Linked DNA regions of Homo sapiens: regions 1, 2, 3, 5 and 6 are each linked to region 4. The links are contacts of gene promoters, found by promoter capture Hi-C in blood cells and fetal thymus (Javierre and others, 2016). All regions are on one chromosome and are shown on one strand. Each heading gives the region's core, a stretch centred on a gene start or on the middle of the fragment in contact. The rest is flanking DNA. Distances are from core to core; before and after follow the strand shown. Region 1 has its middle 4.5 kb from the start of MACO1. Region 2 overlaps MACO1 (macoilin 1). Region 3 overlaps MACO1 (macoilin 1). Region 4 holds the start of SELENON (selenoprotein N). Region 5 overlaps TMEM50A (transmembrane protein 50A). Region 6 overlaps MACO1 (macoilin 1).

Region 1 (4,935 bases), core at 345-2,844, 370 kb after region 4:
TGTGGTTTCTTAGGCAAGGCTTATCCATCCACTTAGGCAAAAAGCTTCTTGGAGATCAAATCTATACCCTGCAGAGATACAGTTAAGAAAAATGGCCAAAGTACTTGCTTTTTCAGAGTAGGGCTGAAATTCTAGCTTGGCCACTTACTAGCTTGGACAAGTTACTAAATCTCTCACAGTCTGTTTCCACTCAGGTTTGTTTTAAGGCTTGGAGGACAATGAGCCTTCAGAGCCAGACAAGCAGTAGGTAACAGAAAGTAACTGCTGTTAGCAGTATACTTGTTTCTCATGCCTTAATTCTACTTCAGTATATTGATCAAGTGGCACCGGGTGGCCAAGAAAACAAACTCTGTGAGCTCAAAGTTTCACCAAGGCCTGCCCATCATTGAGAAAGGATATGAACAGAATGCTATGTGTGGAGCAGTAGAAAAAAGCCTTCAGCTGCCAAGGCAGATTGGTTCACTGAGGAAGATACAGGTGGGAACCAAATCAAAATGGAAGCTTAAAGGCGTTGGGGAGCGCAGGAACAGGTACATGGTAAAGTCCGGGCTCCAGCCTCCATGGGAACCCCAGACTTGAATATCCCTCATCCCCATGACTGCAGTGTTCCAGATTACCTGGGCCAGAGACTAAGTGGGATGGTTAGATGAGTAAGCCAAAGAAAAGATGAGAGGCACTGGGGACACATGCCAGCTTTCTGAGGCTCACTGTCTAGCCTACTATTAAATAGACCCTGACAGGGCATCTCATGCTGTGGCAAAAGTGCGGAGTGGCTGGGAGCAATGGAGGTTGTGGCTGAGAGTTACTGTTGAGCTCTAGGACTATGTGGAAGCAGAGAAAGGGCAGAGAAAATCTGAGGGTGATGGCTGACAAACAATCTGAAGGTCTGGAGGTCTAAGTTCCAATCCCAATTCACATGGCAACTCACTAGTGTCCTTGGTTGAGTCACCAGCCCACCCTGTGCCAAGATCTCCTCTGGAGGTGGTGCTTCTAGTTCTATGTTTAGAAGCAGATTGTGCTAGCTCCATTTTACAAATGAGAAAACTGAGGCTGAGAGGAAACAAGGTCACATAATAGGTGTGGTAGAGCAATCTAGCTCAAAGCACAAGCTGAGCAAGCTGTGGTGCCTGTATATAGCTATTGATGGGTAGAGTTGGGGTGAGATGATGGGAATGGCCTTCTTGCCAAGACCCAAGGAGAGGCCAGAGCAGGACTGCCCATCTCCATACTCTTCCTCTTTCACTCCTCCAGACCCAGCTCTTTTTTCCATGACCCACTCTAGCACAAGCCCTTTTGGCTCCAGCCAAGTGCCAGCCTTTTTCCTCTGAGTCCTGAAATGGCCCTTTGGGATTCTAAGGGCACAGAAGTGGGCCTCCTGCCAGAAGGCCCCAGCTCCCCACACCTTCACCAGTCAGGAAGCAGAGATCAGCAGTGGCCATTTTACAAATGAGTGAAACAAGGAAGGGAAGTAATTTGCCCTCATTCAAAAGACCAAGGCCTACAGAGGAATTTAGGCTTGTCCCTCCTTCTGGGACTTTCTGATGAAGGGATTTGCACTTGGGCTTCAGCTGAGCCCAGAACAGCTCTAGAGGCCAGATCATTAAACCCTGTTTCACATATAAGGAAATGGTATTCCCACCTCTGTCAGCCCGTTCAATCCCCGCAAGCCCACTAGCTGTCTTGAGCTTTGTTCCTGCCCTGTAAGAATCACAGAAAAGTCCAAACATTTCGATGGCCACCTCTTAACACATGTACCTGTATCCCCTAGAGAAACCTATTTTTTTTTTTTTTGAGATGGAGTCTTGCTCTGTCACCCAGGCTGGAGTGCAGTGGTGCATTCTCAGCTCACTGCAATCTCTGCCTCCTGGGTTCAAGTGATTCTCCTGCCTCAGCCTCCAGAGTAGCTGAGACTATAGGCACACGCCACCACGCCTGGATAATTTTTGTGTTTTTAGTAGAAATGGGGTTTTGCCATGTTAGCCAGGCTGGTCTCAAACTCCTGACCTTAGGTGATCCACCTGCCTTGGCCTCCCAAAGTGCTGGGGTTACAGGCGTGAGACACCACACCAGGCCAGAACCATGTTAATGGAAGATGTTCACTGTAGTGTTTAGAACAGGGCTAGTTTGGGAGAGGACTGACCAAACACTTTATCACATATCCTTACCATGGAAGTCAGTGTGGCATGGAGGATGATTATACACAGCACTAACTATGGCAGCCGCCACTCCAAGTATCAGATACATTTTGTTTTAATCCTCACAACAATCCTATGAGATAGAGATTACTAGCACCATATTACAGATGAGGACACTGTGGCACAGAGGAGTTAAGGCACTTGCCTAAGGTCACATAGTAACAGAGTTGGGAATTCAAATCCAGGCAGTCTGCTTTCAGTGCCTGGGCTCTTTAACCACCATGTTATATTGTTGTAGAAAGATTTTCCTGGCTTGGAAACTGCTTATGATATAGAGTTCATGAAAATAGCAAGTTACCAAACAGTATGTGCTGTGTAATCCCATTTTTGTAGGGAGAAAAACAAGGCCTAAATCGACAGGAATAGAAAAACATCTGAAAGGATATACACTCAAAACATAGTGCTGGTTTTTGGAGAGACTGAAATGGACATTTTATGTTAGCTTTATGCATCTGTATTTTCAAAGTTTCTACAGTAAACTTGCCAAGCTTGTGTGATAATCATAATTGCTAACATTTATGGAGTGTTTTCTACACATCTGACACTTTATGCACTGCCTCGTTGAATCTTCACAACAACCCAGTGAGATTGACACTGATTTTCTGCCTTTCCAGATGAGGAAACAGGCACAGAGACACTGACTGTTTTACCCAAGGTCACACAGCTCATTCCAAAGCCAGAATTTGAACCAGGTTGCCTAACTCCAAAGCTCATGTGTGTTAAATCAATGAACGACTGACTTAGCTGCACTTTAGCCAAACGTGCCCAGAGCAAGGTCACACCCTTGGCGTGGACACATTTCCAGGGAGGGACCGGAGGACCTCCTACCTCATTGGTCACTGCCAGTGACTGAGCTTGACTCAGGTAGGAGGGCATGGCAGGTATTCTCAGGGAGTCTGGTGTTTACAGAAAAGTCATGATTACACGTGAAAGCTGTGGGCTCCCTGGCTTGATTCACCACACCTGCAGGAAGCCTGGCTGCTCAGACCAGCACGCCGTGGACATAGCACCACTTGCTCAGCTTCATTTCCGTAACTCAGGCTGCCAGGCCTGCTGACAAATTTTCACGTTTGTAATAACCCTGTGAGGAGACCAGAGTACATCTTACTTGACTCATAAGGAAATTGAGACTGGGTGATTTAGTAACTTGGGAGGCAGAATTGCAAAGTGATTAGCAACACAAGCCATGGTGTCAGATGGATCTGGGTTAGGTCCCACCTCTGCCGTTTATTAGCTGTGTGGCTTTGGGTACTCACGCCACCTCTCTGAGCAGCAGTTTCCTCTTTTGTAAGCGTAATGATGCCTACACTCACAGGCTTGAGAGGAAGATCCGATGAAATAGCATATGCAAAATGATTGGTTCCGTGCTTGGCATTCCAGAAATGGTAGCTGTTATTCAGCCAACAAATATTTATTGAGCACCTACTATGGACTTCCCTGGTGCTGAGGATACAACAGCAACCACAGCAGTCAAAAGTCCCTGTCTTTATGTTGCTCAGATTCTCATAGGGGAAAGCAGATAATGAACAAATACACGGCCAGACGCAGTGGCTCACGCCTGTAATCCCAGTACTTTGCGAGGCCAAGGTGGGCAAGTCACCTGAGGTCAGGAGTTCGAGACCAGCCTAGCCAACATGGTGAAACCCTGTCACTACTAAAAATACAAAAATTAGCGCAGTGTGGTGGCTCATGCCTGTAGTCCCAGCTACTTGGGAGGCTGAGGAAGGAGAATCGCTTGAACCTAAAAGGCAGAAGTTGCAATGAGCCAAGATCGTGCCACTGCATTCCAGCCTGGGTGACAGAGTACTCCATCTAAAAAAAAAACCTAAATACACAAGTAAAAATATAGACTTCGTCAGATGCTAGTAAGTGCTGTGAAGGAAACTAAAAGGGGAACACAAGGAACCCTTGTCAAGGGGAGCAGAAAGGGGAGTTGATGCTGTCCTTTTAAATAGGGCAATCAGAGGCCAGGCACAGTGGCTCACACTTATAATCCCAGCACTTTGGGAGTTCGAGGCAGGTGGATCACTTGAGGTCAGGAGTTCAAGACCAGCCAGGCCAATGTGGTGAAACCCTGTCTCTACTAAAACTACAAAAACTAGCCAGGTGTGGTATCGCGTGCCTATAATCCCAGCTACTCGGGAGGCTGAGGCGGGAGAATCGCTTGAACCTGGGAGGCGGAGGTTGCAGTGAGCCGAGATTGTGCCATTGCAGTCCAGCCTGGGCAACAAGAGCAAAACTTCATCTAAAAAAAAAACACAGCAAAAAAGGGCAGTCAGGGAAAACTTCCCTGAGAAGGGGATGGTGGAGTACAGATCCAGGGAGGTGAGGTGGGGAGCAAGCCAGTACAGTTGTTCCTTGACTTTCGATGAGGTTATGTCCTGATAAAGCCATGGTAAGTAGGAAATATTGTAAGTCAAAAATGCATTTAATACACCTAACCTACGGAACATCATAGCTTAGTGTCACCTACCTTAAACATGCTTAGAACGCTTACATTAGCCTACGGTTGGGCAAAATCATCTAACACAAAGCCTATTTTATGATAAAGTATTGAATATCTCATGTAATGTACTGAGTACTGTACGGAAAGTGAAAGACGGAGTGGTGGGATGGGAACTCTAAGCACGGCTTCCACTGCATGTGTGTTGCTTTCGCGCCATCATAAAGTTGAAAAGCGTTAAGTCAAACCACCGTACGTCGGAGGCCATCTGTATCTGGTAGGAGGAGTGTTTCAGAC
Region 2 (4,716 bases), core at 440-2,939, 310 kb after region 4:
TTTAGCAGAAGTGAAATATTAAATGTACAGTTTTGTACATAGTCTTTTAAAAACTAAATGATTTTAACTATTGTTTGAAAATAAAATTTTTATTGGCTGTACAATATTCCTGAATGTTTACATACCAAAATTTAAATGACTCTCCCATTGTTAAGACTGTTTTCAATTTTTTTGCATTTTTATACCACTACGATGAACATCTCTGTACATCACTCATTGGTGAGATTTTAAAATTGTTTACCTTAGGCTGGATTCCTAAAAAAGGTAAATACTTAAAAAGTGCAAGACCTTTTCCAGAAAGTTACATTTCTACCAGCAATGTATGAGGCCTATTTTGTTGCATCCTCACCATGATTGATATTCTCATTTAAAAATCATCTGCTAATTTCATAGGAGAAAAATGATATCTACTTTTAATCTGCATGTCTTTGATGATTGGTGAGTTTATATTTTTATGATCTTATCAGTCACCTGTATTTCCTCTGAATTATTTGTTCACATCCTCAGCCTATTTTGCTATATATATGAGCTTTCCTTAGCAACTTTTATGAGCTACGGATATGTTGAGAATATTAATTCCTTATTTATAATATTTGTTGCAATATTCATACCTTCCCCAATCAATTTTTTCATTTATTATTATGATTTTTGCTTTGTGATTTTTTCCCATTGCTTGTATGTTTAGAAAATCTTTCCCTTGTTTCAAGGTCAAGTATATTTCCACCTAGTTTTTAAAAACTCATTTATTCTTTGTTTTTTCTGCCTTCAACTCTTCATCTGGAATTTCTTTATATGTGGCATGAGATGAGTTTCTAATTTTTTTTCTCCAGTTATTTAGCTATTCCAAAGCCTTTTACTGACTAATCGTTACCTTTCCCATCTATCTCTGATGCCACCTTTACTTTTTTTCGTATTTTTTTCGGTACTGTACTCCAGGCCATCATTCTAGTCCACTGACTTGACAGTAATTTTTCACTTGTCCCACCTGGCTCAAATTACTGTAACTTTACAATATATGACATTAGTTTAAATGACAAATATTTGGCTAAAGTATACACAGCCCATAAAACAGGCTACGTCCATAGCACTAGCACCTTTCCTATCATTCACTGCTATGAACAACAATCTGCAAGGCTCAGAGCCATGCAGGAGGGTCAGTCCCCTGGCAATAGAAAGAGGGTTGGGGCTAAAAGGAGGTGTGTAAGTTTCAAAGGACACTAATCTGGCCTATAACCTGAAAAAGTTAAATGAATCTACAGCAAGTTAAATCCTGGTATAAAACATACCAAGGGATTGTCAACATTTCTGGTTTGTATTAGAATCTGGCTACATTAATATGACTTGAAATGAGCTGGACAAGATTAGAACTTCAAATCTTTTTGTCACATAGAGATTTTTCAGATGCAATGAGATTTGATCTATATTAAAAGGCATCATCTCTACACTGCAACACAGAGCACAAGTTTAGCATAAAAGTGGAATTCAAATACAAGGGAAGTCTTTTGTTCCCCCCTTACCTGGACTTTTAGTTCTAGTTCTCTGATTTGGTCTTCTTTCACCTTCATGTCCATCGTGAGCTTCTTGCCCTCTGCTTCTAGTTCTCTGATCCGATTCCGTAAGGTTTCGGTGCATTCTCCCCTTTTGAAAAAGAAGAGAAGGAAATAAAGTGATTTAAAAGACTATAGGTTGGGGCTGGGCCCTGTGACTCAGGCCTGTAATCCCAGCACTTTGGGAGGCCGAGGCAGGCAGATTATTTGAGGTCAGGGGTTCGAGACCAACCTGACCAGCATGGTGAAACCCCGTCTCTACTAAAAATACAAAAAAAATTGGCTGGGCATGGTGGTACATGCCTGTAGTCCCAGCTACTGGGGAGGCTGAGGCAGAAGAATTGCTTGAACCCAGGAGGTGGAGGTTGCAGCGAGTCCAGATCGTGCCACTGCACTCCAGCTTGGGCGTCCGAGTGAGACTCCATCTCAAAAACAAATAAATAAATAAATAAATAAAATTTTAAAAAAGACTATAGGTTGGCCGAGTGCAGTGGCTCACGCCTGTAATCACAGCAATTTGGGAGGCCAAGGCAGGTGGATCACTTGAGGTCAGGAGTTCAAGACCAGCCTGGCCAACACAGTGAAACCCTCTCTCTACAAAAATTAGCTGGGTGTAGTGGCACACATCTGTAATCCCAGCTACTCGGGAGGCCGAGGCAGGAGAATTGCTTGTACCTGGGAGGCAGAGGCTGCACTGAGCTGAGATGGTGTCACAGCACGTTAGCCTGGGTGACAAAGTGAGACTCTGTCTCAAAAAAAAGAAAAAAAAAAGACTATAGGTTTACTTGTATTGTGGGATTTATATTTCTTTTAATTTCTTTTATACTCCAGGGTCTGTCAGGTTTTAGCTTTTGGCTCAGTCTGCTCAGTTCTCTGTGTCCTTTGATAATTTCAATAATACTCTAAAATAACTGGGCTGGGCATGGTGGCTCATGCCCGTAATCCCAGCACTCCCAAGGCCAAGGTGGGAGGACTGCTTGAGCCCAGAGTCTGAGATCAGCCTGGGCAACACAGAGAGACCCTGTCTCTACAAAAAATTTAAAAAATAGCTGGGCATAGTAGCACATGCCTGTAGTCCCAGCTACTCAGGAGGCTGAGGCAAGAGGACAACTTGAGCCCAGGAGTTTCAGGTTATAGTAAGCTATGACTGCACCATTGCACTCCAGTCTGGGTGACAGAATGATATCCTGTCTCAAAATACATACATATATACAATAATTATTACTGAGTGTCTAGATGAGCCAGACACTAAGGTACTTTACCCATACTACCTTCTTCAATCCTTATAACAACCTAGGGTATATTTATCCCATTTTCCAGATAAGAAAACTGAGGCTACATAGATAAAATACTAGTTCAAGGTTACCTAGCTTTTAGGTCTTAGAATAGGGATAAGAACTGAGATTTTCTGGCTTCCCAATCCAGCAAACTTCCCACCAGGCCATGAGACTTGAGACAATACACACAAAGCCAGATAGAACTGAACATGTACTATGTCCAGCAGGGGGCGGTGAACTAGAAAAAAATTTTCCCCCCACTTTTGAGGGGCTACGCATTGGGACTTTTGTCTTTCTTGTCATAAAGTTGCCACAAGACTGGAGTAAACAGAAAAATAAGGGCACACTGTTGAGCTGCTTCTCAGGGCTATCATAAGGTTGAGCTAAAAGAGATGATGGCAATGGCCAGTCCAAAGCTGGTACTGTCTAGGTTCCAGAAACAGCCCAATGAAGAAAGTAGGTGTTCTCTGCCTACCAAAACGGAAGGTCCAGTCAGAGATTTATGCCCTGAGATTTACTGAATAAATTATGGCAGGCCTGGTGTGGTGGCTCACGCCTGTAATCCCAGCACTTTGGGAGGTCAAGGTGGGCAGATCACCTGAGGTCAGGAGTTCGAGACCAGCCTGCCAAGATGGTGAAACCTCGTCTCTACTAAAAATACAAAAAGTTGCTGGGCACGGTGGCAGGAGCCTGTAATCCCAGCTACTTGGGAGGCTGAGGCAGGAGAATCGCTTGAACCTGGGTGGCAAAGGCTGCAGTGAGCTGAGATCGCGCCACTGCACTCCAGCCTGGGTGACAGAGTTAGACTCCGTCTCAAAAAGAAGGAAAAAAAGAATAAGTTATGAAAAACAAGGACTATCCAGGGATAAGATAAATAAGCTTAACTGGAAGCAAAAGGGATTTGGGGTAGACACTGAAATCAACTTACTGATTCTCAGGCATGGGAGACACTAAGCAATATCGTTAAGGAACTGCTATGTCCTCCTGAGTGGAATTTTTCAGAAAGGGCAGGTGCTGTATGAATTGAGGAGAGAGGAGAGCAGTCATCACTAGATGACTGTTCAAGAACATCTCCTGCAAGTTTAAGTGCTTCAGAATGCAAATACATCTTCAAACAAACAAACAATCCCACATTGTAGGCAGGCTAGTCAAGGGCCTTGTAAGTCTGTATAGATGCTGATGGGCCAAGCCAGCTCAGCCATCTGCTGGGGGGAGGCAGGATCACACAGGAGAGAGTTCTCACTTGCTGTTATTTCCTAAAAGGTGAAATGATTCACCAATTATTCTGCAAATGCCAGAACCCACAAAGAAGGCTATCAACATGCCAAAAGTTAAATTACTTAACTTTAATTACGACAAAGCAAAATTCAAGGAAAAATTACAGTTGAATTATACCACGTAGATACAAATTAGGATGGAATTTAAAAGTGAAATAAATAATAATTTACCCTCGCTCTATATCTGCAAACACCTAACTGATTCCCACATGCAGAGGGACTTCACTAGTCAAGAAAACAAAGGAAAAAGTGATAAGTGAAGTAGAAGCAAAAAGAAAAAAAAAGCTCTTAACTATCTAATAGTTTTTGGAATACTTGCACACAGGGGTACTTTCCAGTGGTATAGGAGGTAGTCCCCAATTTTCATTATGCCATAAATGTAATTCCATCTAGTAGAGACTTATGTTTCACTTTTTTTTTCCATTTCATTTGACAGTTTGCTGATATCCATTTGAGCAGCCAGTACACAGTGCTTGGGCAACCAAGATTTTATCTTTCTTCCATTTTAAGATAAAAACTTCAGAAACACATATACCTAAGAGTGGAGAGTAATGATAGCTCTCTAAAGGGAACGAACTTCCAGATAGAATCTCTCAATGCATTTAGTAATCATCA
Region 3 (4,851 bases), core at 645-3,144, 350 kb after region 4:
AAGAAATCATTAAGACTTACCTGTGTGCCATACGTACTGAACCCATACATATGTGCTAGCAGCAAAAAAAAGCCACTGTATGGGGATGAACAGCAGGCATATTATATTTGACGTGAATGCTACACAAACAAAAAATACTGAGAAGGCCTAAAGGGAAAAATAAAACAAAATAAAAGATACATCTTAGAACCTGTTATTTTCAACCACACATTGTTAAACACATGTTGGACAAAATTATTGAAACTGCTAAGAGATAACTTGGTAACTGTAAAGCAAATTCACAAAAGGAAATTTTAAACATTTAAAATCAACCATATAAAAAGTAGCGGTTACTTTAACATTAAAGAATACTAGTACTTTATGGTCCTCAAATCATGAAAAAGAACTGGATCAGAATGAGCTGAGGTGGGAACACAGTGAATTCATTTGGATTCCAAATAAATGTGGGTTACCTGAAAGAACTAGAATTTTTTTTTTCTTTTTTCTTTTTTGAGATGGAGTCTCGCTCTGTCACCCAGGCTGGAGTGCAGTGGTGCGATCTTGGCTCACTGCAACCTCCACCTCCCGGGTTCAAGCGATTCTTCTGCCTCGGCCTCTTGAGTAGCTGCAACTGTAGGCACTTGCCACTACACCCAACTAATTTTTTGTAACTTTAGTAGAGACAGGGTTTCACCATGTTAGCTAGGGTGGTCTCAATCCCCTGACCTTGTGATCCGCCCGCCTTGGCCTCCCAAAGTGCTGGGATTACAGGTGTGAACCACCACGTCTGGCCCTGAAAAAACTAGAATTTTAATACAGAAAAGTCTTCTCTCTCCTCACAAACCATTCCTAAAGAGCTTCATTCTTAAAAGACAGGCTGTCTGGAGCACAGATGAACCATAATATTAGTAAGAAATATACTGATGCTATTAGGTTGGTGCAAAAGTAATTGCACCAAACTAATAATAATTTTAATAATGCAGCTTTCCTCTGGACACCACTACCGCCAATAGAACATAAGCCGAAACTATCTTTTTAAAGCATAGATTTGCTCTGACCAAAGCACCAGGCCTGGGTGGGAGTTATAGTTTTAAGATGTGGCTGTAGAACACAACAGAATTAACACATTAATCAAGGGAACAAGCCCAGGCCTATGCTTGCTCCAATCCAGCAGCTGTCTAAATGTGGTTTGGGGATTTCTGGGGTGTCTTTGAGATCCCTCCAAGGGCTCTTTGAGGTTAAAACTATTTTCATAACAATACTAAGATGTTATCTGCCTTTTTTACACTCACTCATGCATATGGTGGAATTTTCTGTAAGTTACATGACATGTGATACAGTAACAGACTGACTTCAGAAGCAGATATGAGAATGTAGGTGTCTTCCATTGAGCCAAATATTAAAGAGATTTACAAAAATGGAGCCACTCTTCTATATTCTGTTTGTTTTAGAAAATATAACTATTTTTCACTTAAAAATGTAATTTCTATTAACGTGTAATGGGCTTATTATGATGTTTAAGTGCATTAATAAGTGTGTATTTTAAATTTTTCTCAGTTTTAATTTCTAATACAGTAAATCTGGATAGATATAAGCCACATTAACAAAGGCTCTCTGGAGTCCTCAATAGTTTTTACGAGTGAAAAGGGGCCCTGAGACCAAAACGTTTGAAACACTACTCTAACTCCAATCCAATCACTAACCTAGCAACAGGGAACCCAGAAACACTTCAAAGCAGGACTGAGCAATTTTTTTTTTAAGGTAGGAACGGCCTTTATGGTTGCAATGGGAAATGGAAGAGGAGGGAATATGCCATCCCCAGACTAGGTTGCCGCCCTCCAAAAGCCTGAGTAATTATTGCTTCCTCCACTGTTCTGTTTCACTGGAATGGGAGAGGAGGAGAAAATGTAACTATTTGATCAATGGGTTTAGACAAAATAGTTTAGAGGTCAATTTCAGTTAACAGACCCTATTAGCTAATCCTAACATAGTTACCTGAGTATTGCTAATAACATCTACTCTAAACAGCTGAATGGTCCCCACACATGGAAAACATGTATTACCAGACATACCAGTCCCTGGTATCTGAAGGAATCATAGACGCTTCTGATGAAAAGCCAGAATGGCCACAGGTATTCAAATCTGAACTCCAGGACAAAATCTGCTAGGAGGACAAGTGCCCACACCACCAGGAATTTCAGGTATAAAAATGTACTGCAAAATATAAAAATAAAGAATTAATTTAAGGTCATTTGTGAATAACTAGAAATAGAAAATTCACTGTTTCTGTTTAAAACGACAAAAAAATACCTCCATATATCATGAAAACAATGGAGATAAAGCACAAAAAAGAGATGCTGCCGTGGCCCATCTGCATTTTAAATGCTCTGGTGTTCATTCTCAGACCCAAAACTATCAAGATAAGATGATACCAAAAACGCTTAATTCTACTTAAGATGGAAAAAAACCATTTAAATCCCACCACTATTTTAAAAATGTGCTAAGTGTCTGACTTCAAAATACTGCAACACTCTCAAAATTACAGCTTTCAAGCTGTTTTTCATTAGAAGAAAATGTCACAGTTGAAAGGCTTCAAATTTGCTGTTTCCCCACCCCTATACATCTGTTTGAAGAGTCTTTGAAATTCTTGACGCACATCCTTACATGCTTAAAGAATTCTGTCTTTTTTTCCCCCTTTTTTCCTCTTGCCTCTGTATATAGTATTCATCTGCATTAACCAAACAAAAACCAAATGACTTCCCCAAATAGACAGAAACAAACTTAGGGAGCAGATGCTAATCACTACCAAGGGCTGTGAAGGCATAAAAATGTACATTAAAGAAAAAACTCCTTAAACATCTAAGCCATGCTCCAGCTGAGATATAAATGTGTGTTCCCAGTTCCCTCTGGACTTGTGTTAAACAGAAACACTCAGACAAGCCAGTTAGGACACATATGTAACCACTGCAGTAGGTCAAACAAGGACACAGAAAAAAAATATTATTTTTCATATACTCTATAGGTCAATTTTCCAGTTCATTAGTTGCATAATGGACAATAGAATCCTTTAGATTCTACTTGTTAACAAGCCTCTATTTCTGTGCTCCTAATCCTGCCAATTCTGGAGGTCAAATTTAGGTATTAAAAAATATTTTCCACAATATACAAAATGGAAATACCTAAAATTCACTTTCATTTGGGATAAAGCCTTGCACGGTATTTTGTAATACAAATATTCCAATACTGATGTGATCAAATTAGTCATTTAAAAAAACAACAAAATTGAGATTTTTAATAAATAATTTTGAAATATATTCCAATAAGATACAAAAGACTTACATACTTGGAGGAAAAAAACAAAAACAAAAGCAAGAACTTAAAGTAAAATAATAAAAAGAAAAGAGAAAAAAAGAAAAAAGAAAAAAAAAGTAGGATCCAGCATTGAGGATTTATTTTGTGCCCTTTGAAGCCATTCAGGCAAGAGATGTCAAGAACAGAAACATTTGACCCTCAATGATACAGTATTCACAGTGATACATAATTTGTCATCTAGGGTCGATTTCTAATATTTATCCTTAGAACTTCTTTAGGTTTGATAATAAGTTTCTACTAAGAGGTATGCCATAAAGGAATCCAAAGCAAATCACAAAAGAACGCAATCTTTTTTTTTTTTTTTTGAGACAGGGTCTTGAGCTGTCTCCCAGGATGGAGTGCAATGGCACGATCATAGCTCACAGCAGCCTCAATCTACTGGGCTCAAGTGATCCTTCTACCTCAGCTTCCCAAGTAGGTGGTAATATAGGCATGCGCCACCATGTTTGGCTTTTTTTTTTTTTTTTTTTTAATAGAGATGGGAGTCTCACCATGTTACCCAGGCTGGTCTCAAACTCCTGGGCTCCTCCTGTCTCACCCTCCCAAAGTGTTGGGATTTCAGGTATGTGCCTGGCCAGAACACAGTCTTGAATCCTAAGTCCCACCTTTTAGTTTCATTTCACTAGAGTTCTGCTGGCCAGATGAAGATAGAGCCCTCGTAATTCTCACTCATTAAATCCATAACTGACCTAGTGGAGAGCAATGCACATTTTATTACAAAGAACAAACGAGGGCCAGGCACAGTGGCTTATATCTGTAATCCCAACACTTTGGGTGGCCAAGGTGTCCAGGAGTTCGAGACCAGCCTGGGCAACATAGTGAGACCCCATCTGTACAAAAAATTTAAAAATTAGCCAGGTGTAGTGGCACACACTTGTAGTCCCAGCTACTCAGAAGGCTGAGGTAAAAGAATTGTTTGAACCTGGGAGGTCCACGCTGCAGTGAGCCACGACTGTGCCACTGCACTCCAGCCTGGGTGACAGAGCAAGACCCTGTCTCAAAACAAAAACAAAAACAAACAAAAAAACACAACTGACTCATGCAGGTATTCGGGAGCACAAATCTAGTTTGAAACTAGATTTCCAAGGTGCTTGACTTTAAAACTAAGAGTTTTTTTCCTTGTGTCTAGAACCCTTTCTACGTTTTGAAAAAGGAATAACAGCCTCTCCACCATGGTTTCAGAGCACTTTTTAAAAAATGGCATAGCTAGAAGCAGTGGTGTGCACCTGTAGTCCCAGCTATTTGGGAGGCTGAGGTAGGAAGATCATTTGAGCCCAGGGGTTCAAGTCCAGCCTGGTCAACAAAGTGAGACCCCCATCTCTTTATTTATTTATTTATTTATTTAAAGACTGAGTTTCACTCTATCACCCAGGCTGGAGTGTGGTGGCATGATTTCAGCTCACTGCAACCTCCACTTCCCGGGTTCAAGTGATCCTCCTGCCTTGGCCTCCCAAGTAGCTGAGACTACAGGTGCACACCACCACACCACACTCAGCTAAT
Region 4 (5,028 bases), core at 1,308-3,807:
ATTAGAATGTTTCAGCCCCTCATCTTTAACCAAATAAATAAATAAATAATCACTGACTGCACTAGGCAAAAATGATAGCAAGAATGGAATAGGAGGCCGGGCACAGTGGCTCACGCCTGTAATCCCAGCACTTTGGGAGGCTGAGGCGGGCAGATCTCTTGAGGTCAGGAGTTCGAGACCAGCCTAGCTAACAAGGCAAAACCCCGTCTCTACTAAAAATACAAAATCAGCCCGGCATGGTGGTAGGTGCCTGTAATCCCAGCTCCTGGGAAGGCTGAGGCAGGGGAATTGCTTGAACCAGGGAGGCAGAAGCTGCAGTGAGCTGAGATTATGTCACTGCACTCCAGTCTAGGTGACAGAGGAAGACTCCATCTCAACAACAACAACAACAAAGAATGGAATAGAAATCTGAAAGCACCTAAGCAAAGTTTCAGATTTAGTAATGATAGTTATAGCTCCTGGCTGGGTGCGGTGGTTCACACCTGTAATTCCAGCACTTTGGGAGGCCAAGGTAAGAGGATCGTTTGAGCCCAGGAATTTGAGACCAGCCTAGGCAACGTAGTGAGACTGCATCTCTACAAAAATAGAAAAATCAGCTGGGCGTGGTAGCACATGCCTGTGGTCCCACTTACTCAGGAGGCTGAGGCAGGAGGATCAATTGAGCCAGGGAAGTTGAGGCTGCAGTGAGCTGTGACTGCACCACTGCACTCCAGTCTGGGTGACAGAACAAGACCCTGTCTCAAAAAAAAAAAAAAAGTTATAGCTGCTGTCTATTGGAAATCTACTGCATATTCGTCACTGTGCATTTCTTTTCTCTACTGAAACCTGTGAGCTGGTGCAGGACCCTGAAGCCAGATGGCCCCAGTTCTAGCCCTGGCTCCGCACCTTTCTAGCTTGGGAAACTGGGGAGCCTGCCTGTGCCTTAGTCTCTCAGACTATTAAACATGGGGATCATGACAGTGTCCATCTCCCAGGGCTACTGTGAGGTTTAAAGAGAGAACCCACATGAAATACTTAAATACCTGGCACGGAGGAGGTGGCCAAGGAATGGTTTTTTTGTTTTTTTGGTTTTGCTTTGTTTGTTTGTTTTGAGACAGGGTCTCACTCTGTCGCCCAGGCTGGAGTGCAGTGGTGTGATGTCAACTCACTGCAACCTCTGCCTCATGGCCTCTAGTGATCCTCCCACCTCAGCCTCCCAAGTAGCTGGGACTACAGGTGTGCACCACCACACCCGGCTAATTTTTGTATTTTTGTAGGGATGGGGTTTTGCCATGTTGACCAGGCTGGTCTTGAACTCCTGGGCTCAAGCGATCCTTCCATCTCCCAAAGTGTTGGGATTACAGGCGTGAGCTACCTCGCAGACCAAAGAATGTTAGCTGGTATTATTGCTCACAAGTCTGAGAAAAACAGGCTCAGGGGTTGCTGGAGCAGCTCGCCCAAGCCACCAGCTACAAAGTGTCAGAGCTGGGAGGAGTCCAGGGCCTCTGAGATCCCACGAGCTTCCCTCCACTCCAGACGGCCGCTCCTGCTCAGTGAAGACACCGTTGGCCAAGGCGCCCTCCTCCCCAGCCGCCAGTCTCTCCTGGTACCTGTTAGCTTCTCAGCAATGGGTTTGAACTCCTCAGGGCTGATGTACATATCCCCGTCAGTGTCCAAGGAGGAAAAGAGAAAAAGGCCATCTGTCCCCAGGGTCTTCAGCGCCAGTTCCTGCTTGGGAGGAGAGACTGGGCTGGGCACCATTTGGCGGCCTGGTCTCCTGGTCCCCAACAGGCAGTTGCTTCCGCATGGAGCCCCTTCTCCCACCATCTTCCTGAGCTCTCCCAGTGCCTCCCGGTCCATCTGTGCAAATGTTGCCTCTGAACTGCCCCAGAGCCTCCAGTCCCTCCTGGTCCCTGCTCATCCACTGTCTGGTCCGACTGCCCCCTCCCAGTTTGTCCCCACTCCGCCTTCCGCCTGGCCCTGGCTGCTTGGCCCTGTTCCTCCTGCACCTTCTGTCCTCTCCTGTGTCCCCTCCTCACTGTCCCAGGGCTCCCCAGTAACCCTTTAAGACTCTGCGGGAACCAGCTTCACTGTGTCCAGGTCACCCCTCTGGATAGAGACCCCTCCAGTCTGTCCCAGCCCCACACTGGCCTCCGTTCGCCTTCCCCCCATCAGCCCGGCCCCAGGCACCCCCCACCCGCCTCCCGTGTCCCCTCCTTCCCGTGCTCCCTCCCGTCCAGTCCCCCTCCGCCCTCCGCCTCCCCCGACTCGTCCATGCCCATGTCCCCCCTGCTGCCGAGGCTGGGTCCTTCAGTCCCCGCTCCCGCGCTCCCGCCCCAGCCAGCTCGGGCCCGGACCTGCCGCGCGGCCGCCTGGGCCTCGGCGTGGCGGGCGCAGACCCGGACGGCGGCGGCAGCGGCGGCGGCCAGCAGGGCTCCGAGCAGCGCCAGGGAACGGGCGCGGCGGCGCGGTGGCGCGGGAGGCTGCGCGGCGGGGCCGGGGCTGGGCGGCCCGCGTTGGCCCGGCCGGGCCCGGCCCATGGCTGCGGCTGGCGGCGGCTGCCGGCGGCCCGGGAAGCGAAAGAGCGGGGCGGGGCCGGGGGCGGGGCGGCCGGGGCGGGGAGGGGCGGGGCGGCCGCAGGGGCTGGGCGGGGGGTCGCTGGTTCCCGGCTTCGCAGCCCGGCCAGAGCCCGGGGCGGGGTCAGCTACACCGGAACGCCAAGAGGGGCTGATCGCGTCTATGCGGTCGGGTCCGTAGTCCCGGCCACCCCAGCCTCCCCAGGCCGCTTCCTGCCTCTCCGCGCCCCTTCCCGTGCTTCCGTTCCCAAAGCTAAGCCAGGCCTCTGCGGCCCACTTGCCTGGCCCAGCCCAGAGAGCGATTCCAGACTGGGGACTGGGACAAAGAAGGGGCTGGGGAGAAGCCACACACCCTGTGCTTTCCTGGAGAAGGGGCGTCGGGGGCCTCTGAGGCCTCGTGTCCTCCTCTGCTGGCAGCCGGGCACGAGGCCAGAGACTGCTGAGGGGCATCCGTCCATCCTTATCCCACCAGTTTTCTAAAAGTTCCTCTGTCATCTAGAGCAAGACAAATTAAAAAGAAAGCCCAGCCCCTGTTCCCCTCATGTGCAGTTGGGGGGCCACCTCCGCAGATGCATGGGTTATGGGGATTGGCCTTGTTCCAGGCACAGCAGGTGCAGCTCTGAACCTGCACTTCCCTGGGCCCAAATTTCCTCATCTCCACCAAGGAGTTAAAAGAGCCCCCCAACCCCCACCCTCCGGGCTCTGGTCTGGTGAGGGGAAGGCGAGGCTCCAGCCCCTCAGCAGCTGGAGCTACCAGAGGCCCTGGCTTTTCTGGAGAACAGCATGCGGCATGCTTGGAGGAGGGCCTTGGAAATAGGGGTGGGTGGTGTTGAGGACATATTTTCATGCCTGTCAATCCCCAGGACCTTGGTTCCTTGGGGCTCTCTTCCATTCTTTCAAAGCCCCCAGTTACCATGGGGTGGCTCTAGATGTCTCTACCTGCATTTTCTCAGGCGAGGGTGGCAGCTGCAGAAGCCTCTAGACAAGAATTCTGAGCCCAGAGGTGAGCAGTGCCTGCCTTTGCAGAGCCCCACCAACCCCCCCAGCGCAGGGGCACCTGTCAGGCCTGAGGGATCCAAAGGATGCTGAGCTCTGCCCATGTGCTGGACTTCAGGTGGGGTGATTTACACATTCTCTCACTCTGTTCTCAAGCCACCTTGTGAGGTAGAGACTGCTTCCCTGGTTTTCAAATGAAGAAGCCTGACCTCTGGCACCCAGGTCTATGGGTCCAAATCTCCTGCCATCCTGCCTCCCAGGCTTCCCACGGGATGACCCGGTCGACTGAGTTGGGGGTGGGGTCCTGCCTCCACTGCCCATCCTGTTCTTCTTTGGTGGCCAGCCATGGCAGCACCAGGTGAGGCCTTCCCAGAGCCCACACAGGGCGTGGCACATCGTGGGCACTCCTCAGTGTCTGTCAGATGAATGACTCCCAGGGACCTTCCAGAGTTGTGGGCCCACCCAACCCTTGCCCTGTGCTCTGGCCCCAGTGTCCTTAGAGGGACCCACTGAGAGCCTGACATCTGGCGTTGGCTTCTGAAGGCTTCCAACTGTGCCACTTTCAACTCATTATTGCTACTGTTTGGGGACACCCTGTGTACGATACATGATACTAGAAAACCAAATTCTATTCTATTGGAAGCAAAACTAGTAGAGCACAAAGCAGGTTAGGAGGGGAAGATTGATGAGCTAAGGCTTCTGGAAAATAAACAAAGGAAGTTTTCTTTCCCAGATAACTTTTATTTATTACACTTGCTTTTTCTTAAAGATACAGATACCCCACTGGTCTCTGCTGCCCAGTGCTGAAGAAATGGGTTTCTGGGGCTTGCGGGACTTGGGGGATGATTCTAGAAGCTCGGGAAGGCGCACAGTGGGGGTGGGTTAATGACAATCAGGTCAGATCAGTGTGCCTCTGTGAAAAGGATCAATCTTGGGCCCAGCTCTGGGAGATGTCAGCTCTGGGAGGTGTCAGCTCTGGGACTGGCAGTGGAGCAGGGCTGGTTTCCCACTGGAGGGCGCCCTTCCCAGAAGGGCTTGTCCCAAACCAAGATCCCCGGCAGGGCAAGGCCGTGAGAGATAGGGCCTAGTGGGTGGTTCTGGCTGGGGCAGCCCTGCAGGATCTCTTTGGCACCTTGCTATTGCCTCCCAGTGGGCAAGGGTGACACTTGGGAACTGGCAGCCAATGGGAACCACAGCAAGGTGAGTGACGCACTGGCCACGTCCATGAGGGTCTCGGAGGTTAGTGGGCACTCGCTCATTCATCCTTCCAACACATGTATTGAAGGGCTACTATGCCGTGTCCTGGCGATTGGGTGTCCATCAGAAAACAAAACAGTCTCTGCTCTTCCAGATGAGTCAATGGATACTGCAACCCTCCTCTCGAGGGGTAAGTGCTCTGAGAGGGGTGTGCACAGAGGAGGGTCCCCCTGACTATCAGGAGGGCTCAGAAGAGGCTTCCCAGAGCAGAGGTCTGGCC
Region 5 (4,834 bases), core at 1,540-4,039, 460 kb after region 4:
TGCCTCAGCCTCCCGAGTAGCTGGGACCACAGTCACGTGCCACTATAGCCGGCTAATGTTTTGTATTTTTAGTAGAGACAGGGTTTCACTGTGTTAGCCAGGATGGTCTCGATCTCCTGACTTCGTGATCTGCCTGCCTCGGCCTCCCAAAGTGCTGGGATTACAGGCGTGAGCCATTGCGCCCAGCCTTTTTAAATTATTTTTAGTAGAGATGGGGTTTCACCACGTTGGCCAGGCTGGTCTCAAATTCCTCACCTCAGGTGGTCTGCCCGCCTTGGCCTCCCAAAGTGTTGGGATTACAGGCGTGAGCCACCATGCCCGGCCAAAGTAAATACTTCTTGTATCCAAAAAAAAAAAAAAAAAAAAGAAGATGTGGTAACTGGAAAAACAGTGGATTCAACCCTGATCAACAGGGGAGGGAAGTCCCATGGTGACAGTGCTGCAGCAGGCTTACACAGTCATTAATTCATAATGAAACAGACAGATACGGGCTTCTGGGATGTTGATTTCTAAAACAAAAGAAGTTATAATACATTAAAGAATATAATTGAGAATTTGGGAAAAAAATAAAGATGTGATAATAGTAGAAAATGCAAGAAAACAAAGAAAAGGCAGCTAGAAACTCTAGGAAAAACAAAAAACTGAACAAGGCTACTACATTCCACATAGTAACTGTCCAAATTAGAACTGCAGCATTCAAGAAGAATAAAATGAATCCTAAAGAAAATATACATTCTTTCTACCAACAACCACCAAAAAAAAACAAAAAACAAAAAACAAAAAAAAACAATCAGAAACTCTAGGAAAGGTCGGGCACAGTGGCTCACACCTATAATCCTAGCACTTTGAGAGGCCAAGGCAGGTGGATCGCTTGAGCCCAGGAGTTCAAGACCAGCCTGGCAAACAAGGTGAGACCTCGTCTTAATTAAAGAAGAAAAAAAAAACTATAGGAAAAAACAATACTAAATAACAAAGTCACAGCCCAAGTATGAAGCAAACTAAACGATTTTATGAATTTGAGAAACTGGTAAGAATACAAGAATATTTTCAAAATACATTGATAAATTTGAGAAGCACAGAGTCATGGTGCTTATACTATTTGGCACTGCAATAAATTTTGTTTACCGGTTTTAAAAATTTTTCAACAGGAATGCTCCTATTAAAATATAAGGTCATTTCATTCCTCTGCTCGAAACCTTCCAATGGCTTCCATTACACTTACAATGAAAGTAAAGTTCTTATTTTTGTGATGGGGTCTTGCTCTGTTACCCAGACTGAAGTGCAGTGGCACAATCATGACTCACTGTAACATCGACTTGACTTCCCAGGCTCTGGCAATCCTCCCGCCTCAGCCTCCGGAGCAGCTGGGACCACAGGCATGCCCTACCAATTTTTGTATTTTGGTAGAGATGAGGTTTCACCATGTTGCCCAGGCTGGTCTCAAATTCCTGAGCTCAAGTGATCCACCCACCTCGGTATCCCAAAGTGCTGGAATTACAGGCATGAGTCACTGCATCCAGCTGAAAGTAAAGTTCTTATAATGCTTCTCAAGGCCCTATACCATCTGTCCCTCTCCACCACTTCTTTGACCTCATCAATTTCTCTTTCCCTTGATCTTGCTACTGCAGTTATACTGGTCTCCTTGCCGTAAAGCCTTTGTACTTGCTGTTTCACCTGCCTGGAATGAACCTCTCTTATATATCCCCATCCCCTGGTCAGCTCCTTCACTTTCTTCAAGTCTTTACTCAAAGTCACCTTCTTAGTGAGACCTTCTCTGACTCTGCTGAAAATTTCTGGCCACGTGTGGTGGCTCACACCTGTAATCCTGGCACTTTGGGAGGTCGAGGTGGGAGGATCACTTGAGCCCAGGAGACCAACCTGAGCAACATAATGAGACACCCTCTCTATAAAAAAAAAAATTTTTTAATTTCTATCCCTCCTATTGACATCCCTTTCTCCTTTGCACTTATTTGCACATATCTCCTTTCTCTATTTTTTCTCCTTTGCACTTATTTTAAATGACAAAAAGACATGGATTTTTCCTGTTTTACTAACTACTATATGTCCTGTACCTAGAGCAGAGTCTGGAATATAAAAGCTTAATAAATATTGTTGAAAGAATTATCCCTTAGACAAAATACACAGTTTCGGACTTAAATATAAAGCTATAAACCCTGGGGGTATAAAATAAAAGAATAGCTGAGAGAAGCTGGGAGGGAGTGGAGAGGTACACAAAAAGAATAAAGAGGACTGCTGCTTTTCTGTATAAGTCCATCTCTACTGTGTGACTTTTAAATCATGTCCAGTGTGTTAATCTGATAATATTTAGAATTTTAAATCTATGCAACTATATTTGAAACATTTTTATTTTGTGGCAAGCTATGTAAGTAATGCCAATTACGATGACACTTACATTAGGAAGGCTATGGTTGCTATAACACCACAGGCATGGTATGAGTGGTTGAAATCTTTCATGGTGGGATAAATAACAGCTGCATCTATGATAATCCACCAGCCTGTAAAAAACTAAAACAAAGGTGATACCAATGAGAAATCATAGCAATTCTGTATCTCACTGGCTAAAAGCAAGGTATTTAAGTGAGGAGATCCCTTTTAATACATTTCAAAAATGTTCTAGCTTTTTCCCACATGTAATTTGCACATGGCCTAATAACTGATTAGGTACCCTTAAATCTGAGAGCAATTTATATTTATTAACATAACTTTTCTCTAAGCCTACTTCAATCATTATTTAATTTTTATCATAATAAAGCCTTGTAATCTAATTTGGTGAACTAGAAACCAGTTATCTCATGGAGGGGGAAAGGAAAAAAGTGACTCCAATTCCAACTGACAGAAGTGTCCTGTTGATATATGATAAACTTCCAGAGAAATATTCCCCAAAATCAAGAAAAAAGCATTCAAATTAATATGGAGAACAACTATTGTTCACAGAATTTTAGCTATCTTCTTGGTGTGAAATAACAGCTCTGAGGTTCTGCTTTTGATGAATTCCAGTGCAGTCTAAATATGGTTTCAGGTGTGATTTTAAATTTAATTTAAACACCAGATTACAATTTATCTAATTGAATTTGGCTCTAGATATTATCAAGGGCAAAGGTATAACAAAATAACGCCAAAACTTCAAAAACAGTTTTTATCATCTGAGCAGATATTTACAATAAAATTATATTAACCAAATTCTGACAAGTAGCCTAGAAGATTTTAAAAGTAACCCCCTTTCCTTTCCTATCCCCACACCAAACCCTGACTCAGTTAGCTCTGGCAACTGACATCTTCTGGCAATTATTTTAAAGTAACAATTTTAGGCTAGTCAAATTACTTTTATCAGGTTACAGACAGATCCATACTCGATTAATAACATTTTTAATGGCTAGCATGAGTACATATGCCTTTCTTTTTACCCTCAGCTCAATGTATTTAAGATATTTTCTTCATAGACTAAAAACTCAAAGCTTTTTGGCCAGGTGCAATAGCCTGTAATCTCAGGACCTTGGGAGGCCAAGGCCAGTGAATCACTTGAGCCCAGGAGTAGGAGACCAGCCTGGGCAACATGGAGAGACCTCATCTCTACAAAAAAAACAAACAAAAAAAAAAACAAAAATTAGCCCGGTGTGGTGGCCTTCATCCGTGGTCCAGGCTACTCCGGAGGCTGAGGTGGGAGGATCACCTGAGCCCGGGAGGTCGAGGTTGCAATGAGCAGTGATTTCACCACTGTACTCCAGCCTGGGAGACAGAGTGAGACCCTGTCTCGAAAATAAATAAATCTTAAAGCTTAAGAAAAAATGGCTTGGTGCGGTGGCTCATGCCTGTAATCCCAACACTTTGGGAGGCCGAGGCAGACAGATCATCTGAGGTCGGGAGTTCAAGACCAGCTTGACCAACATGGAGAAACCCCGTCTCTACTAAAACAAGAGCAAGGCCAGGCGCGGTGGCTCACACCTGTAATTCCAGCACTTTGCAAGGCCGAGGCAGGCGGATCACGAGGTCAGGAGATCGAGACCACGGCGAAACCCCGTCTCTACTAAAATACAAAAAAATTAGCCGGGCGCAGTGGCGGGCGCCTGTAGTCCCAGCTACTCGGGAGGCTGAAGCAGGAGAATGGCGTGAACCCCGGGAAGCGGAGCTTGCAGTGAGCTGAGATTGCGCCACTGCACGCCAGCCTGGGCGACAGACTGAGACTCCGTCTCAAAAAAAACCAAAAAAAACAAAAACAACAACAACAAAAAAACAAGAGCAAAACTCTATCTCAAAAAATAAAAATAAAAAATTACTCTTTAGAGCCTACGACACCATATGATCATAAAAAACTAATAGCAGATCCCTTGAGGGATCTGAAGTGTAAATAAGAATTTTATTCTGTAAATTACTTCCACACAATGTATTTTAATGAGTTTCCTTTTTGTTTTTGCTTTTTAAAAAAAAATTTTAAGGGGCCATGCTAATCTTCTCTGTATTATTCCAATCTTAGTGTATGTGTTGCCAAAGCGAGCACTTTTTTTTCCCTGAGACTGAGAAGAAAGTTAACTGGATTATGGAGAAATGCAATCACATCTATTGACTGGTTTTGACCTGACTGCGTCTTAAACACTTCCTTGTACCTTAATATACTCATTAAAAGGAGATATAATCCATATAATGAACAAATGTTTTATTATGCCATTTTTACCATGCAGTTAAAACAACCCAACCACTTGTTAATCAAATTTTAAACCATAAACTCTTAAAGTGGAACTAATAACTCTCCACAAACAACAAAATATCAACATGGTCAAAGTGGTCAAAGATAAAATAAATAGTACATATTTTAAAA
Region 6 (4,970 bases), core at 462-2,961, 330 kb after region 4:
GTTTTAAAGATCTAAGAGGTACCCAAGAGATTTGCAAAGATGAAATATACCCACATTGGCTGGCAAAGTATCCAAATAGCCAGTTTCTAAATGATAGCATGAATAATATTTAAAGAATATGGTTCCTTTTCCTTGGGGTTACCTTCCCTTCAGGGAATCCACCCCTAACCCCCTTAGATGAAAAACTAAATTCATTATATGCCAACAGAGGTACTGACTCAGAATTTAACACAAAGCCTTTCAAAGTTTTGTAATAGTTCCTTCTCAATTCTAGGGAGTAAACTTTCAAACAGCCTATCTAGAAATCAGTTTTGATAGAATGAACTCTCGGGACTCAACATAAAAATTTTTTTTTTCATGTTTATGTAGAAGCCCCCTCCCCAATAACCTACATGTTACTTCATAATTTATCCATACACCATAATCACCTTCCTGTTTGGCCTCTTAGATATGGAGACATTCGGTAAACTGTTTGCTTAAATTCACTTATGCCTAGTTTCTAAAATGCCACGTTTTTCAAGCCACAAAAAACCCTGTTTAAGTATAAAATCATGCCTCTATTACCACATTTATATCCCAGAATACGATAGTTTTAAATTCCTGCAATGGTTAAAATAAACTCAAACTATATTGTATATTAATATAAACAGAGTCAAACTATAGGTATAGAAAATATTATGGTTATAGCAGAAAATGAAAATTAATCAGGTCCGACAAAGTATATCTGCTCAGACATAGTGCTAGAAAAACATAAATCAAAAACATGTTTCCACAGAGACAGAAAACACACTAAACTTACTAGACAGATGTCTCTACTACTTATTTTTTCCCACTTGATAATTTCCAAATAATTCAGCAGCAGCTATAGCCAACATATTCAATTTAGTCTAGCTAGAACATCTAAGTGTCTAGTTTTCACAGTTCCCATTCTAAAATTTCATACATTTTTATTATAATTTTATATCTCAGCTAGAATAATGCTGTTCCGAAAAATTATTTTATGCCTCACAGAAGTAGAAAGGCCGGCTGTGGTCGCCATCACTCAGGGAGGGGTCAAGCAGGTGACTCTGCAGCAATCTGTCAGCACCCTGTTGTGTAGCCACCTGTAGGGAAAGCAGCTAGGGGAACCCCCAAAGCCTGAATCACTGTCTACCAAGATCAGATTTTCTTCCGCAAACTACTCCTGACACAAGCAAAATGCATTCAAAGCAGAAGAGAACAAACAAATTTAACATTCTCTCTGTAGCATTAGAGAGAAAGCAGCCAAACACATATTCTAACCTGGAGGATCTCCTTGGAGAGAAGGTTGGAACAGAAACATGGATGAAGCTGGAAACCATCATTCTCAGCAAACTAACACAGGAAGAGAAAACCAAACACCGCATGTTCTCACTCATAAGTGGGAGATGAACAATGAGAACGCATGAACACAGGGAGGGGAACATCACACACCGGGGCCTGTTGAGGGGTGGGGGGCTAGGGGCGGGATAGCATTAGGAGAAATACCTAATGTAGATGACGGGTTGATGGGTGCAGCAAACCACTATGGCATGTATGTACCTGTGTAACAAACCTGCACATTCTGCACATGTATCCCAGAACTCATGCACATGTATCCCAGAACTCAAAGTATAATATATATATTTTTTTAATGTGGGATCTGAGCTGTATTTCCAGCTACCACAAAGACAAAGAATGATCTGGGACTGGCGAGGAGAGAGAGGGCTAGACCCACCAGAAAAGATGAATAAGACAAGGCAAACTGAGATTATCTTCCCTGTTCCTGGCTGAGATGAGGCTTCTGTCTAGATTCCTTGGCCCTGAAGCACAACCAACCCCACTGCCAGAGCAAATGCCTTTTTTGACAACAGTGTCTCAGAGGACTTTTCTCCTCTTTTCCCTTGTAACTTCCAGAAATTCTTACACCTCTTTCAAAGCCTTGGGAAAAACTACTGACGGAGTGCTGGATTTTAAAACTTTCTGTGAAATACCAAGAAAAGGGGTTTGGAGCAAAGAGACTTTCTATTTAGAAATAAAATTATTAATAACCTCAAAAATAACAAAGAGTTTGACACTGGATGTGCAGTCCTCGATTGGGTCTAATGTGATATTCAGGTTTTCTAACTTCAAAAGCCTTTGAGTTGCACTGTGATAAAATTACTGGGTGCCACCCTCCCTGCTTCCTAGTATTTTCCCTGCACAAAGGTAGCATTTATTAATTCAACAAGTATTTACTGAGTATCTACTCTGTGCTAGCCAAGCACTGTGTACTGTGACAAACCAGTGAAAATAAGTTCCCTGTCCTTACTGAGCTTACATTCTATTATGGTATAATAAGCATGTTATAAAAACTTAAACTATGCAGAAATAAACAATGCAGAAAGTAAATGTCTCTGGCAGCCAACTACAATTGACCATCTGGTATATATTTCAAGTAATTTTCTGTGCACATGAGAAATATATCTACCCATATTTTTCTTTCTTTCTTTTTTTTTTTTTTGTTGAGACAGAGTCTTGCTCTGTCGCCCAGGCTGGAGTGCAGTGGCACGATCTCTGCTCACTGCAATCTCTGCCTCTCAGGTTCAAGTGAGTTGCATGCCTCAGCCTCTTGAGTAGCTGGGATTACAGGCACCCGCCACTGCACTCAGCTAATTTTTGTATTTTTAGTAGAGACAGAGTTTTGCCATGTTGGCAAGGCTGGTCTCGAACTCCTGGCCTTATGTGATCCACCTGCTTTGACCTCCCAAAGTGCTGGGATTACAGGTGTGAGCCACCGTACCCGGCCCTACCCATATATATTTTTAATTTTTTTTAAAGACAGGTTCTCACTCTGTGGCCCAGGCTGGAGTGCAGAGGTGCGACCCTGGCTCACTGCAACCTCTGACTCCCAGGTTCAAGTGATTCTCGTGCCTCAGCCTCCTGAGTAGCTGGGACTACAGGCACATGCCACCACGCCCAGCTAATTTTTATATTTTTAGTAGAGATGGGGTTTCGCCATGTTGGCCAGGCTGGTCTCAAACTCCTGACCTCAACTGATCCACCTGCCTCAGCCTCCCAAAGTGTGGGATTACAGGTGTGAACCACTGAGCCCGGCCCCTACCCATATTTTTCCATGGATTCATACTATACAATCTGTTTTGCTACCTGCCCCCTCCCCACCCCACTTTAGCAGACAATCTTGGGTTCCTTTAATTACCTTAAGATGGGCTTGCACCTTTCAAGATAATTGTTTGTTATCTTTCCCACTTAACTACTGTGGTTCCCCACTAAGGACTCATCAGGGCCTTGGGAGAAGGATGGAATCCTCCATGAAAGGCCACCTGCCCCTGGGTTACCAGTCCAGGGAATGCTCACAGGCTCTGTCTCCTAAACTGACCGCTCTGTCTTGCTTCAACCCAATGGTCAGGTCCCAGCTTTGGATTCTATTCTTGCTTCATGCCTATTAACAACCTTGGGCTACATGCTCTGAATCTTCTTCTCCACCTTCTGTTGCAACTTTCTCTCTTGCCCTGGAGCTAGGAGCCAGCCTCAACCACTCCTAACCCTGACCCAGGCCAGTTCCCTACAAGAGATAAAGAATGATAGAAAGATAGATAGTAAATAGCATTAGCCCCCAAATTTGCTAGTGGCTTTGAAATGTTTCTCTAAGATCACAAAATAGGGACATCTTGGATTCTCTCTTCACTTTGCTCTGTTTTATAGTTATTCACACCAAATCATATTGAATCCACTGATTATGAAAAATCAGTATCTAAAAATATAGTCCTTTCTATTCAACAAATGTGTAATTTTAAATTGGGTGTAGACATCTTATAATGTGGAGAAACAAAAAATAAGTACCCTAAAACATCTACTTTAGTTTTTTCCTAAACTGCAAGACCAAATACACCAAGGAGTCTTATAAAAGTCAGAGGTTGGCCGGGCGCGGTGGCTCATGCCTGTAATCCCAGCACTTTGGGAAGCTGAGGCGGGTGGATCACAAAGTCAGGAGTTCGAGACCAGCCTGGCCAATACGGTGAAACCCCGTCTCTACAAAAATTAGCCAGGCATGGTGGCGCACGCCTGTAGTCCCAGCTACTCGGGAGGCTGAGGCAGGAGAATCACTTGAACCCAGAAGACAGAGGTTGCAGTGAGCCGAGATCGGACCACTGCACTACGGCCTGGGTGACAGAGCAGGACTCTGTCTCAAAAAAAAAAAAAAAAAAAAAGTCAGAGGTTACACAGCAGTATTAAATGCTGGTAGCTGGAAGACAAGGTTAAATTCAGAAGTATGAAAGTCTGTGAATTCCTAGTCAAGCCACATTTGAGCAATGTGTGCCATCAGGAAAGTCTAGTCACAGAGGAAAGCTGATCGTTTTTAACATTTGCTATCTTCATCTGCCCTTTTAAGGAAAAAAGGGCAGATTCATGTTTTAAAATCATAAAACATAAATACAAGGTTTAAGTGGGCTAGAAAGTACAATGAAGGGCAATGACACTTTGCTCACTCACCAACTTAAACCAGAAAGGAATGAGTCACAAAAACTCGTATCACAGACAACACAATACTAATCAACATACTCACTGATGACTAGAACATTACATAGCTTATTTATAGATTATGTTGTTATCAATATATATGCTCTAAAAATATTTCTCTAGATTCAGATTTGTTAATTTAAATTAGTACTTGAATATGAGTATAAGTTAAACACTTCTCAGCCAGGTGTGGTGGCTCACGCCTGTAATCCTAGCACTTTGGGAGGCCAAGGCAGGCAGATCACTTGAGGTCAGGAGCTCGAGACCAGCCTGGGCAACATGGTGAAACCCCGTCTCTACTAAAAAAAATAAAAAAATTAGCCAGATGTGGTGGCACTGCCTGTAATCCCAGCTACTTGGGAGGCTGAGGCAGGAGAATTACTTGAACCTGGGAGGTGAAGTTTCCCAGATGGCGCCACTGCACTTCAGCCTGGGCGACAGAGTGAGACTCC

The links. The method cuts DNA at HindIII sites, captures the fragments that hold promoters and counts their contacts. A CHiCAGO score of 5 or more calls a contact.
Region 1: a contact is called between a fragment that was not itself captured here and the fragment with the promoter of SELENON in region 4, in 6 of 17 cell types (fetal thymus, M0 macrophages, endothelial precursors and 3 more). The highest score is 6.8, in fetal thymus.
Region 2: a contact is called between a fragment that was not itself captured here and the fragment with the promoter of SELENON in region 4, in 11 of 17 cell types (naive CD4 T cells, total CD4 T cells, total CD8 T cells and 8 more). The highest score is 13.1, in naive CD4 T cells.
Region 3: a contact is called between a fragment that was not itself captured here and the fragment with the promoter of SELENON in region 4, in 6 of 17 cell types (total CD4 T cells, total CD8 T cells, naive CD4 T cells and 3 more). The highest score is 7.0, in total CD4 T cells.
Region 5: a contact is called between a fragment that was not itself captured here and the fragment with the promoter of SELENON in region 4, in 2 of 17 cell types (activated CD4 T cells and M0 macrophages). The highest score is 5.4, in activated CD4 T cells.
Region 6: a fragment that was not itself captured here is called in contact with the fragment with the promoter of SELENON in region 4 in 7 of 17 cell types (naive CD4 T cells, total CD4 T cells, non-activated CD4 T cells and 4 more); the score reaches 8.8 in naive CD4 T cells.

What each region holds. Positions count from the first base shown.
Region 1 is chr1:25,423,913-25,428,847 of GRCh38, reverse strand. It overlaps a transcript of RHCE not described here. Among named protein-coding and RNA genes, the nearest start is that of MACO1, 4.5 kb to the left of the region's middle. The HindIII fragment of the contact is 2,182 bases long and covers 504-2,685 here.
Region 2 is chr1:25,486,095-25,490,810 of GRCh38, reverse strand. MACO1 (macoilin 1) reads right to left here. Exons shown (of 11, transcript NM_018202.6): 9 at 1,518-1,638. Among named protein-coding and RNA genes, the nearest start is that of LDLRAP1, 55 kb to the left of the region's middle. The HindIII fragment of the contact is 4,032 bases long and covers 1-3,705 here.
Region 3 is chr1:25,444,104-25,448,954 of GRCh38, reverse strand. MACO1 (macoilin 1) reads right to left here. Exons shown (of 11, transcript NM_018202.6): 2 at 2,052-2,193; 3 at 21-147. Among named protein-coding and RNA genes, the nearest start is that of MACO1, 16 kb to the right of the region's middle. RefSeq lists an enhancer at 1,078-1,317. The HindIII fragment of the contact is 8,507 bases long and covers 1-4,851 here.
Region 4 is chr1:25,797,722-25,802,749 of GRCh38, reverse strand. SELENON (selenoprotein N) reads right to left here and starts at 2,557. Exons shown (of 12, transcript NM_206926.2): 1 at 2,337-2,557; 2 at 1,590-1,707. The coding sequence starts at 2,519. RefSeq lists a silencer at 2,693-2,832 and an enhancer at 2,642-3,363. The HindIII fragment of the contact is 6,547 bases long and covers 1-5,028 here.
Region 5 is chr1:25,340,653-25,345,486 of GRCh38, reverse strand. It overlaps TMEM50A (transmembrane protein 50A), which reads right to left. Exons shown (of 7, transcript NM_014313.4): 3 at 2,414-2,526. It also overlaps the pseudogene LOC124904723. Among named protein-coding and RNA genes, the nearest start is that of TMEM50A, 4.7 kb to the right of the region's middle. RefSeq lists a silencer at 1,403-1,603. The HindIII fragment of the contact is 1,378 bases long and covers 2,101-3,478 here.
Region 6 is chr1:25,468,872-25,473,841 of GRCh38, reverse strand. The region is part of intron 6 of MACO1 (macoilin 1); the gene reads right to left. Among named protein-coding and RNA genes, the nearest start is that of MACO1, 40 kb to the right of the region's middle. The HindIII fragment of the contact is 7,817 bases long and covers 1-4,970 here.